Linked DNA regions of Homo sapiens: region 1 is linked to region 2. Evidence: promoter capture Hi-C in human tissues and cell types (Jung and others, 2019). All regions are on one chromosome and are shown on one strand. The core of a region is centred on a gene start or on the middle of the fragment in contact, and the rest is flanking DNA. Distances in the headings are between cores, read along the strand shown. Region 1 holds the start of LOC107985304 (a long non-coding RNA gene). Region 2 holds the start of ZNF793 (zinc finger protein 793).

What was found. Contacts are between HindIII fragments. The study calls those that stand out against the background at their distance.
Region 1: a fragment that was not itself captured here is called in contact with the fragment with the promoter of ZNF793 in region 2 in 1 of the 25 tissues and cell types used here (lymphoblastoid cells).

What each region holds. Positions count from the first base shown.
Region 1 is chr19:36,230,542-36,236,344 of GRCh38, forward strand. ZNF146 (zinc finger protein 146) reads left to right here. Exons shown (of 4, transcript NM_007145.3): 4 at 5,118-5,803. It overlaps LOC107985304 (a long non-coding RNA gene), which reads right to left and starts at 5,211. Exons shown (of 2, transcript XR_001753933.3): 1 at 5,043-5,211. It also overlaps a transcript of ZNF565 not described here. RefSeq lists enhancers at 3,031-3,533, 3,534-4,035. The HindIII fragment of the contact is 4,389 bases long and covers 2,043-5,803 here.
Region 2 is chr19:37,504,464-37,510,550 of GRCh38, forward strand. ZNF793 (zinc finger protein 793) reads left to right here and starts at 2,476. Exons shown (of 8, transcript NM_001013659.3): 1 at 2,476-2,503; 2 at 3,802-3,940. It overlaps ZNF793-AS1 (ZNF793 antisense RNA 1), which reads right to left and starts at 2,624. Exons shown (of 3, transcript NR_110723.1): 1 at 2,376-2,624; 2 at 1,383-1,577. RefSeq lists enhancers at 1,394-2,185, 2,186-2,977, 2,543-2,692. The HindIII fragment of the contact is 9,018 bases long and covers 1,206-6,087 here.

The DNA of each region.
Region 1 (5,803 bases), core at 2,987-5,486, 1.3 Mb before region 2:
AAAAAGATCTGAAGAGTGCGAGAGTGGGCGTGCAGCATTGGGTGGAAGATCATTAGCCAGAAGGAACAAAAGTGTTAAAAGCCCTAAGTCAGGAGAAGCTTGCTGTCCTGTTCAGAGAATAGTGATCAGGGCCGTGGGCTGGAAGAGAGAGGGCAAAAGGGAATAAGAGTAGCAGTGGTTAGGTAACAGGTCAAATCACAGGTTTCAACATTGATTCTGAGTGATTTGGGAGACCCAACAGAGGGCCAGCCTTCCTTCCTTTTCCTTTTCCTTTTTTTGAGACTGAGTCTTGCTCTGTCACCCAGGCTGGAGTACAGTGGTGCGATCTCGGCTCACTGCAACCTCCACTTTCCAGGTTCAAGCGATTCTCCTGCCTTAGCCTCCCAAGTAGCTGGGATTACAGGCACCTGCCACCACGCCGGCTAATTTTTGTATTTTTAGTAGAGTCGAGGTTTCACCATGTTGGCTAGGGCTTATATGTATATATATTTGCAGCATAGATATAATATACTGGCTTATTCCTAGGTTACCTCAAGAAGGATATACGTGACACGCGTAAACGTGACCACAACTGACTTTGGGAGGCCAAGGCAGGTGTATCACTTGAGGCCAGGAGTTCGAGACCAGCCTGACCAACATGGAGAAACCCTGTCTCTACTAAAAATACAAAAGTTCTTCTTTTTTTTGAGACATAGTTTCACTCTGTTGTCCAGGTTGGAGTGCGGTGGTGCCATCGTGGCTCACCGCAGCCTCTGCCTCCCGGGTTCAAGTGATTCTCCTGCCTCAGCCTCCTGAGTAGCTGGGACTACAGGTGCCCACCACCACACCCGGCTAATTTTTGTATTTTTTTGGTAACCAGTTTTCACCATGTTGGCCAGGCTGGTCTTAAACTCCTGACCTCAAGTGATCTGCCCGCCTCAGCCTCTCAAAGTGCTAGGATTACAGGCGGGAGCCACTACACCTGGACTCATTCTTAAGTTATAATTAACTATAATATCAATTCTTATTTTGGCATCTCCAGAGTTTCTGTCTTGCCTTACACAACTTTACCTGTTTATGGGACAGACAGCTGTCTAATTTCATTCTCATTGTGTCAGAATGCTACCCAAATTAAAATTTTCATCCTATTATTTTCAGATCCAGAGATTACCTCAGACCAGTTTCATGTTATTTCTGGATTATTTCTTTTCCCATGGTCTTTGTAATAGGATCAGTCAAGCCTTAAAAAGACACACTAAGCTCTCTTTAATAGAGAACAAAGGGCCAGGCACGGTGGCTCACATCTGTAGGCGAGGCGGCAGATCTCTTGAGCCTAGGAGTTCTAGACCAGCCTGGGCAGCGTGTTGAGACCCCGTATCTTTTTTATTTAAAAAAAAAAAGGCCAGACTCGGTGGTTCACCCCTGTAATCCCAACACTTTGGGAGGCCGAGGCAGGCAGATCACCTGAGGTCAAGAGTTTGAGACTGGCCTGGCCAACATGGTAAAACCCCGTTTCTATTAAAAATACAAAAACTAGCTGGGCGTGGTGATGCACACCTATCGTCCCAGCTACTCGGGAGGCTGAGGCAGGAGAATCGGTTGAACCTGGGAGGCGGAGGTTGCAGTGAGCTGAGACTGCACTCCGGCCTGGGCAACAGAGCGAGACTCCATCTCAAAAAAAAAAAAAAAAAACATACAAATTATGTGACTACAAATATGAACATATTTCTTTCTCTTTATAAAATTTTTGAATCTTGGCCTTTGATTATGAAATATTCTACTTATGTAGGTACTACTTATATAAACTTGAATTCAGTTTTCATTAAAATGTTTGTTACTTCTGCCTTTTTTCCTCTTCCCTCTGCTTGTCCATTACTTCATATTTTCCAGAGGAACTTACAAGTTCTCAGCAAATGATACCTTAAACATGGTTTTAGATTTTGCCGTCTATAGTCTGCATTATAATCCGGTTAAAAGGAAGGTCCATGTTTTATTTTTCTGATCAGTAGTTTGAGAACGCATGAGTTGCTGTTAAATAATCTATGAATTTTTTGTGTGGAAATACTGATCAGTTCTTTTTTCTTTTTTCTTTTTTTTTTTTTTCCCGAGACATAGTCTCCCTCTGTCACCCAGGCTGGAGTGCAGTGGTGCGATCTGGGCTCACTACAACCTCCACCTCCCGGTTTCAAGTGATTCTCCTGTCTCAGCCTCTTGAGTAGCTGGGATTATAGGAGCATGCCACCACATCCAGCTAATTTTTTGTATTTTTAGTAGAGACGAGGTTTCACCATGTTGGCCAGGCTTGTCTTAAACTCTTGGCCCCACAGTGCTGGGATTACAGGTGTGAGTCACCATGCCCAGCCATTCAATTATTTTTTCATATGAACATTTTTTAAATATAACAAATGCTGAAGGAATAGTTAAAGAATCTCTTATGTACCCCCCATGTGGATTGAATAATTAATATTTTGCCACGCTTTTGTATGTCCGTATCCATGTGTTTATTTTGTGTGCTGAGGCATCATGATGTTTTACTTCTAAAAAATTAAATATGTATTTTCTACCAAGAAAAGCAGCTCCTGGCCAGGCGTGGTGGCTCACGCCTGTAGTGCCAGCACTTGGGAGGCAGATACGGGCAGATCACCAGATGTCAGGAGTTCCAGACCAGCCTGGCCAACATAGTGAAATCCTGTCTCTACTAAAAATACAAAAATTAGGCGTGGTGATGCATGCCTGTAATCCCAGCTACTTGGGAGGTTGAGGCTTCAAGAATCACTTGAAGCCAGGAGGCCGAGGTTGCAGTGAGTCGAGATCGCACCACTGCACACCAGCCTGAAGGGGTGGGTTTCCCCTCCACAGCTGTGGGCGTTTCTCGTCAGGTGGAAGGACTGACTTGGAAAAGAAAGAGACACAGAAACAAAGTATAGAGAAAGAAAAATGGGCCCAGGGGACCGGCGTTAGGGAGGACCTGCATACGGAGGACCTCTCAAGAGGACCGGCCTCTTGAGTTCCCTTAGTATTTATTGATCATTATCGGGCGTTTCTCGGAGAGGGGGATGTGGCAGGACAATAGGGTAATAGTGGAGAGAAGGTCAGCAGGAAAACGTGAACAAATGTCTCTGCATCATAAACAAGGTAAAGAAAAAAGTGCTGTGCTTTTGATGTGCATATACATAAACATCTCAATGCCTTAAAGAGCAGTGTTGCTGCCAGCATGTCCCACCTCCAGCCCTAAGGCGGTTTTCCCCTATCTCAGTAGATGGAATATACAATCCAGCTTTACACGGAGACATTCCATTGCCCAGGGAAGAGCAGGAGACAGATGCCTTCCTCTTATCTCAACTGCAAAGAGGTCTTCCTTTTTTACTAATCCTCCTCAGCACAGACCCTTTACGGGTGTCGGACTGGGGGACGGTCAGGTCTTTCCCTTCCCGCGGGGCCATATTTCAGACTATCACATGGGGAGAAACCTTGGACAATACCTGGCTTTCCTAGGCAGAGGTCCCTGCGGCCTTCTGTAGTGTGTTGTGTCTCTGGGTACTTGAGATTAGGGAGTGGTGATGACTCTTAAGGAGCATGCTGCCTTCAAGCATTTGTTTAACAAAGCACATCCTGCACAGCCCTTAATCCATTTAACGCTGAGTTGACACAGCACATGTTTCAGTGAGCACAGGGTTGGGGGTAGGGTTACAGATTAACAGCATCTCAAGGCAGAATAATTTTTCTTAGTACAGAACAAAATGGAGTCTCTTATGTCTACTTCTTTCTACACAGACACAGTAACAGTCTGATCTCTCTTTCTTTTCCCCACACAGCCTGGGCGACAGAGCAAGACTGTCTCAAAAAAAAAGGGAGCTCTCCCATATAACAAAATACCGTTTCACACCTTAGAAGATTAACCATGTTGTCCTAATATTAGACTACCCAGTCTATGTTCACATTTTTCCAATTGTCCCCAGAATGCCTTCCATAGTTTTTTAAAATTACAGAATGTAATCAGGGTTCAAGCTTTGCATCTGGTTGCTCGCCACCACGCCCGGCTAATTTTTTGTATTTTTAGTAGAGATGGGGTTTCACTGTGTTAGCCAGGATGGTCTTGATCTCCTGACCTCGTGATCCGCCCACCTCGGCCTCCCAACGTGCTGGGATTACAGGCGTGAGCCACTGCGCCCGGCCAGCCAGCATCTTTTGTCTTCAGCTGCAGAATGGTGCTGCAGGTCTTACCATATATGTGGGTTTAATCTCTGATTTCCGTATAGCAGCTCATTCCTGTCATCTCATTTGCTGAATGCCCCTGAGCTCTGATTAAAATTCTGCAGGGGATAAACTTCCATTTCATATGAAGGTGTGTCCAGTCCTTTGTTCTCGTGACTGGACAGTGCATGTTCAACTGTTCCTTACACTTTTTTTTCAGCCACCATCCTTTATTCCTTTTGAATAAGGGAATTTGTACCATTTTCTCCTTATAATTTTAATGGGGTTTTGGGAGGAAGCACTTGTTGGTTGATCTATTCCTTTTCTTAGAAAGATGAGCATTATTTAGCCAGGTATGGTGGTGCACACCTGTAATCCCAGTTACTCAGGAGGCTGAGGCTAGAGAATTGCTTGAACCCAGGAGGCGGAGGCTGCAGTGAGCCGAGATCGCACCACTGCACTCCAGCCTGGATAACGAGCGAAATTCCGTCTCAAAAAAAAAAAAAGAAGAAAGAAAGATGAACATTATTTTTCTTCCTTAGCATCCCAGGTAGACTTTCTAATTTTCATCTTTTTCTTCTATTTGGCAATTCTTCATTATTTGTTATACAACTTGCTAAATTCTGAAATGGAAAGGTTATTTTTCAAGAGTACTTTCAGCTTTGTGGACCCATGAATGTTAATTTTCTACCTAGATCACCTCAAGTAGGGTTCCCTTCTCATAATTTAGTTGGAAGCATTAATAATATAGATTATTTTCATATTGGGAGATGGGCTACCAGAGTTAATCTCAAAAAATTTTATTGCTAGTAATGGGAAAATTAACAAATAAAAGTGATAGTAATATAAAGGTAAAATGAAGGGCTTACCATATGGCAGCCATGGTTCTGGGCACTTTATGAATTTAACTCCTTTGTGCTATGGTTCTTTGTACTCCATTTTAGAAGAAGCCTGAGAAGATGATGCACAGATAGAGAGGCACCAGGACTTGAGAGGCACCAGGACTTGGGAGGCATGTTGATCCATCTCCAGGAAAGACTGAGAAAAAGAGCGTTGAATATAAGAAAAAATACTTCCTCTGTTCTCAGATCGTATTTGTTTTAAGGCCACACCTTTTTGAAGTTTTCAGTTTGAAACACAACCTGGACTGAAATCATGAGGGAGGTTGTGTAGGAAAGAATCATCAAGGGACTTAGTTGGGAGCTTCTCTACCACAGCTTACTCCTTATGGTATTAACCCCCTTTAAGTGTAAATGTCTTTGGTTTAAAACGTTTGTACCTCATCTGTTACCAGAGTGTTCATACTGGAGAGAAACCCTATGAATTTACTGAATGTGGGGGAACTGTTACTCATATGTTGCATTTCGTCGAACGTGCAAGTCATGCTGAAGAGAAACCCTGTGCTTCTAAGGAGTATTGACAAGCCCTTAGCTAGATGACAATCTCATTGAGAAGCAGAAAATTCATGCTGGAGAGAAACTAGTGAAGGTAGCAATACTTCATTGAATATTAGAAAATTTTTCTAGAGAGAAAGCATTGAATATACTGAGTATGATAACATTTCCTCTCAAACCTTATCCCTTACTCTGCATTTGGGAGATCATACACAGAGAAGCCTTATAAATGTAAG
Region 2 (6,087 bases), core at 1,226-3,725:
AGCCTCCCGAGCAGCTGGAATTATAGGCGTCCACCATGCCGGCTAATTTTTGTATTTTTAGTAGAGACGGGGTTCCAACATGTTGGCCGGGTTGGTCTTGAACTCCTGACCTCAGGTGATCTGCCCACCTTGGCTTCTCAAAGTGCTGGAATTACATGTGTGAGCTACCATGCCCAGCCTAAATGGTGATTTTAAATTAATTACTATAATCACTTCAAAGTGTTGTCATATAAACCACTTATATTAAATCAAATGAAGCAAGGACCCTTGACCTCTTTGTTAAATTTTAAAAATCTAGCAGAGCCATAGGCCTTTAATTTTTCCATCGCAAGGAAGAAGAGGAAACTGGTAATAATCTCCTCTGACAGAATAATCTCGCAACTTTAGGAACTTTATTTAAAGAATTCAGAAATGGGGTTGGGCGCGGTGGCTCACACCTGTAGTCCCAGCACTTTGGGAGGTCGAGGCAGGCGGATCACCTGAGGTCGGGAGTTCGAGACCAGCCTGACCAACATGGAGAAACCCCGTCTCTACTAAAAATACAAAATTAGCCTGGCGTGGTGGTGCATGCCTGTAATCCCAGCTACTCAGGAGGCTGAGGCAGGAGAATCGCTTGAACCCGGGAGGCAGAGGTTGCGGTGAGCTGAAATTGCACCAATGCACTCCAGCCTAGGCAACAAGAGCGAAACTCCGTCTCAAAAAAAAAAAAAAAGAAGAAATGTCAATTGTAGCATTTTAACACAGCATTGAAGTTATCTACTGATGCATAGCAAATTACCCTAAACTCAGAAGCTTAAAACAACAAACATGTAGTATCTTACACACTTTCTGAGGGTGAGGAATATAGGAGCTGCTATAGCTGAGTGCTTGTGACTGTGTCTCTCACGCAGTTGCAGTCAAACTATTGGCAGGGGCTGCTGTCATCTCAAGGTTTGACTGGGGCTGGGAGATGTGCTTCCAAGGGTGATACACTTGGTTATAGGAAGGCCCCAGCTACTCCCAGGCTATTGGGTGGAGGGCTTAGTTCCTTGCTACCTGGGCCTCTCCATAGGCTGTCTCGGTATCCTCATGACATGGCAACTAACTTCTCTCAAAGTGGGGGCAGCAGCCTTTAAGACAGAACTCAAGGTGCCATTTATTATATTTAATCTCAGCAGTGACATCTATCACTGCTACTGCATTCTATTAGTCTCACAGTCCAACCCTGGTACAATGTGGGAGGGAACTACATAAGAGTGTGAATAGTAGGAGGTAGGAATCATTGGGAAACATTTTGAGGTCAGTTATTGTATCAGTTGCTAGGATGACCAGTTGGAATTAGGATTTTTTTAAAAAGCCATTTTCATAAGACAAGGCAATCTTTTCTAGAGATGTTCCAATACCTGTGATATGCGGAGCACTGCGCTAGGTGGTATTCAAGGCAGGCCTGTAGTGAATGCTGTTGGACCCAGCCACCACCCCTGAGCAATCATATGCAGACCGCTGGCTTCTTAACTGCAGACACCTACAGACTCAGCCTAAGACTTTCCCACGAGGCAGGCTCGAAGTGCTGGAGCTTTAACACCTCTGGAGTGGCCCTAAAACAATTAGGAAGAGAGATGGTGTAGACATATGTAAGCTTCATCGGCCTGGTGGTTGTGAAAACTTGGAAGTGGTTTCTACACAATCCCCCAGAGGTCCCAAGCTGACTGAGCCCTCATTGATCCAGAGCTAATCTGCTCACCTATGCACTGTATATTCGTTCCCATCGCTCCCGTCTCACTTCTCCATCCCCCACCTACCAAATAAACTGCTTGCACTCATTCTTTCCTCAGGTCGGCTTCTCGGGCAAGCCTCCTTAGGTAAAAACCTTGCTTTCAACATTTCCTTTCCATTATGCGCTAAGAACTCTGATCTCTTCCCGCTGCGGCAGCCCCGCCCTTTCCTTGCGGCTCCGCCCTTTCCGTGAAGTCACGCCCGTCCTTAGGCTGTCTCTGTCTCCCTAAGAGCGAGTCTCTTCGCTGCTCTCTAACTCCTAGAGCTGGCTCAGAAAGAGTTTCACATTGCCATAGGGGAGCTCCTAGGAGAGGCTGCACCCATTGCACGTAAGAAGCGGTAAAAATGTACGCGGCCATCTTACCAGGCTGCCGGAGACAAAGAAAGCTCAGCTTTGATGTCTGGGCGCCACCATGTTGGCCACAGGAGGTTTTGGCATCTGAGATGCTGAGTTAAGAGCAGAGACGACATCTCTGTTTAGGGATCCAGGGACACTTCCTTCTCCTTGTCCTAAAATAGCCTTATCTTTTGGTCTAGCAAAGGGCTTAATCATCCGTTTTACGGCACAGTTTTAAACATGGCCGCCCCAGGTAGGAGTCAAGTGGGCGTCGCCATCATACCTCCAATTACAGCTTTGAGAAACCCAGAATCCTGTTCACTGGAAGGTTGCCGGGTGGCGGCTGACAGCCTCAAAGTCGCAATTGAGTCTGCGCACCGGCCATTCAGGATGGGACGACCTTATACCGCGGTGAGGCGGCGTGGCAGGACGACCAATTTCAGATTCAGGGCGCGGATGCAGCATAAATGGGAAGGCACGGTTTGAGAAACGGTCAAACCTGGGACTAGTGGAGGATAGTGAGCTGCCGACTACGGTGGCCGACTGGGTCAGCTATGGGTGCCCGTGAGGGTCAATGACAAGGGAACTGAAGGGTTAAGAGATTCGGCGTCTGAGCCTCGCGGGGCCTCAGTGGTGGCGGACAGAGGTTTGCGGGAGTCAGTGGCACGGTCTCTGAAGAAGATGGATTGGGAGTGTGTGGGAATCAATAAATGCGAGTTCTGTGAAATGTCTTGATTTTCAGGGTGCATGGGGTCAGTAATAGTGGTCTTCATGGGTCTGGGGTCAGTTGGGATTTTTCAGACACTGGTTTAGAGATCTTTAAGGTTAATGATCGGAGCCCGAGAGGATCAGTGATCGGAGGTTCTAAGTTCTGTGGGCAGTAATAGTTTGGGTACTGGAATTGGTGATTGTGGAAACTTTGGGGTTCAAATGAGGGAGGTCAGTGGTGATGAATGTTTGGAGAAATGTTTTGGGCCATCGGTGATTGAGACTTACTTCATATCATCGGTGGAGGATCGGAGAGTATTAACGATTGGACTTTTGTAGATCAGGGAATGGAGAATAGAGTCAAGTGTGCTTATCTTAAAGGTACGCCTCAATGAGGCTCAGTGATTCGGACTGTCACTTGTGGGTGGGAGTGGGACTGTGAGAATCAACAATTGATCCTCAGTCGTTGGGATATCATTGGCAATCAGTGTGGATTCATGATTGGGGGCTGTGTAATTTCACTGGCAATCAGATCGGATCGGTGTTCTTTGTAGTTACTGACCTGTAGTCTCTCCTGGTCAGATTTGAACATAGGGGAATATCAGTGACTATGAAAACCTCTGAGGGTTGGAGATTGGAGGCCAGTGATTGGGGGCACTATGCGTGTCTGATTAGGAGACTTATAGGGGTTGGTGTTGAGGGTCCTGAAATGTGGAGATTGGGGATGGGAAAATCACAGATTTGAGGCTGCAAGCCTGCATAGCGGGAACACATTTCACTCAGGTGACACTCCCTAGCTGAATAGCAGCCAGTTCCTCTCCACCAAGGCCCATCTGAAAACTCTTTTTTGAACCCACACCCTTTTTATTGTTCTCTACAATAATGAAAATAATTTGAAAGGATCGCGTGCTAAACTTATCTAAAGTAACATGTTACTAAAGACGTGGCTTCTATTCTTGTTAGGGATCTAATGCATATTTTTTCCTAATGTTTCCTTTAAGGCTCTTTCTGGCAAAGGTAATGACATACGCATCTGTGCCAGCATCCCAAGAGTGAGGCTGGTTTCTGGAAATCCATTCTGACTCTGTGACAGCGGGGATGGATGTGACCTTGCCCGTGGTTAGAAAACAAATTTACTGAGTAAGTATCTAAAATGATAATGTAGGCTGTGTGCAGTGGTTCATGCCTGTAATCCCAGCACTTTGGGAGGCTGAGGTGGGTGGATCATTTGAAGTCAGGAATTACTAGCCTGGTCAACATGGTGAAACCCTGCCTCTACTAAAAACACAAAAATTAGCCGGGCGTGGTGGCGGGCGCCTGAGGTCCCAGCTACTCTGGAGGCTGAGGCAGGAGAATCGTTTGAACCCAAGAGGTGGAGATTGCAGTGAAACGAGATTGTACCACTGCACTCCAGCCCGGGTGACAGAATGAGACTCTGTCTCAAGATAAATAAATAAATATAAATAAACAAAATAAAATAAAATGATAATGTAAAAGATTTGGCTGAAAGAGCAAACAGAGTGTTTAGAAAATACTTTTATCTAGGCTCAACTTAAATTATCAAAGGAAGAGAAACTAGATTTGGAATTTATTGTATTCTGAGAAACTTTTTGCCTTGTCCTATATATTTTAGGCATAGCCATTTTTAACCTCCACTAATCAATTCCTTATAAAGTCCTGGCAGAAAAAATTCAAGACAGATAAAGCCACAACCGCCACAAAACAAAATGTAAGCTACTTTTAGAAACTGTTCCTCACTGAAATTAAAATTGAACTAATAGTTATTAAAATGGCTGAGATGGGATTGCAAATAAAATGGAAATAAGATTTGAAAAAATAGATTTAGGGGATATAAGTGCAGTTTTGTTACATGGGTATATTTCACAGTGGGGAAGCCTGGGCTTTTAGTGTAACTATCACTTGAATAATGTACATTGTACCAATCTGATAATTTCTCATCCCTTACCCGCTTCCTACCCTCCCTCCATTCAGAGTCATCTGTGTCTATTATTCTGCTTTCTATATCCATGTGTACACATTATTATCTTATAAGTGAGAACATGCAGTATTTGACTTTCTATTTCTGAGTTAGAAAATAAGATTTTGACCATTAATGAAAAAGTGCAATGTCAAAACAATATTTTAATTTTAAAAAATTATTACGTTTGATCTTTATGTAACCTTCAGACAAAGCACAATGCCTGTAGCATCTTAAGAAATAAAGGCAGCTGGATGCTAAGGCAGGTAACATCTTTCAGAACCCACATAGGTCAAATTTTAGTTTTAAAAGCAGATAGTCCCTGTTTTTCACTTGCACAGAATCAAAGACAGATAGCTGCTTAGCATGGGTGAAATAATAAGCCAGGGTAAGGAGTTTGGGTAATTTTTTCTCCATGTTGATTCCCTTCACCACCTATACTGTGCTCAGTGCCAGGTTTCAGAGCAAATAATTAAAAAGAAATTTTACATAAACTTTTTATTGTGATATATATGCAAAAATGTATATAAATATGTAGCTCAATGAATTGTCACAAGGGAATACCCCTGGGTAATGCACTCAGATCAGAAAACAACATTCTAGCACCGTGCCCTCATGATGCCCCTCCCAGTCACTACTCTGCCAGAGGTTCCCTAGCTTCTAATCTTAGTATTGTCTGTTTTTGATCTCTAATTTAATGGGATATTCATTGGGGGGGAGGAGCACCATGGGGAGAGGCAAGATGTGGCTGTGTTTAAACAAAATTTCCAAGTTTGAATTGAGATAATTTCATTTATATAACAGATACTTTTCCAGGTCATTAAATATTCCTTGTTTGGCCAGGCACAGTGGCTTACACCTGTAATCTCAGTGCTTTGGAAGGCTGGGGTAGGAGGGTTGTTTGAGGCCAGGATCTTGAGACCAGCCTGCGCAACATAGCGAAACTCCATCATTACAAAAAATTTAAAAATAAGCTGGGTAGTCTGGGCATGTTGGCTGATGCCTGTAATCCCAGCACTTTGGGAGGCCGAGGCAGGTGGACCACTTGAGGTCAGGAGTTCAAGACCAGCCTGGCCAACATGGTGAAACTCCGTCTCTACTAAAACTACAAAAAAAAAAAAAAATTAGCTGGGCTTGGTGGTGGGCGCCTGTAATCCCAACTACTTGGGAGGCTGAGGCAGGAGAATTAGTTAAACCCAGGAGGCAGAGGTTACAGTGAGCCGAGATTGCACCACTGCATTCCAGCCTGGGCAACAAGAGTGAAACTCCATCTCAAAAAAAAAAAAAAAAAAATTAGCTGGGTGTGGTG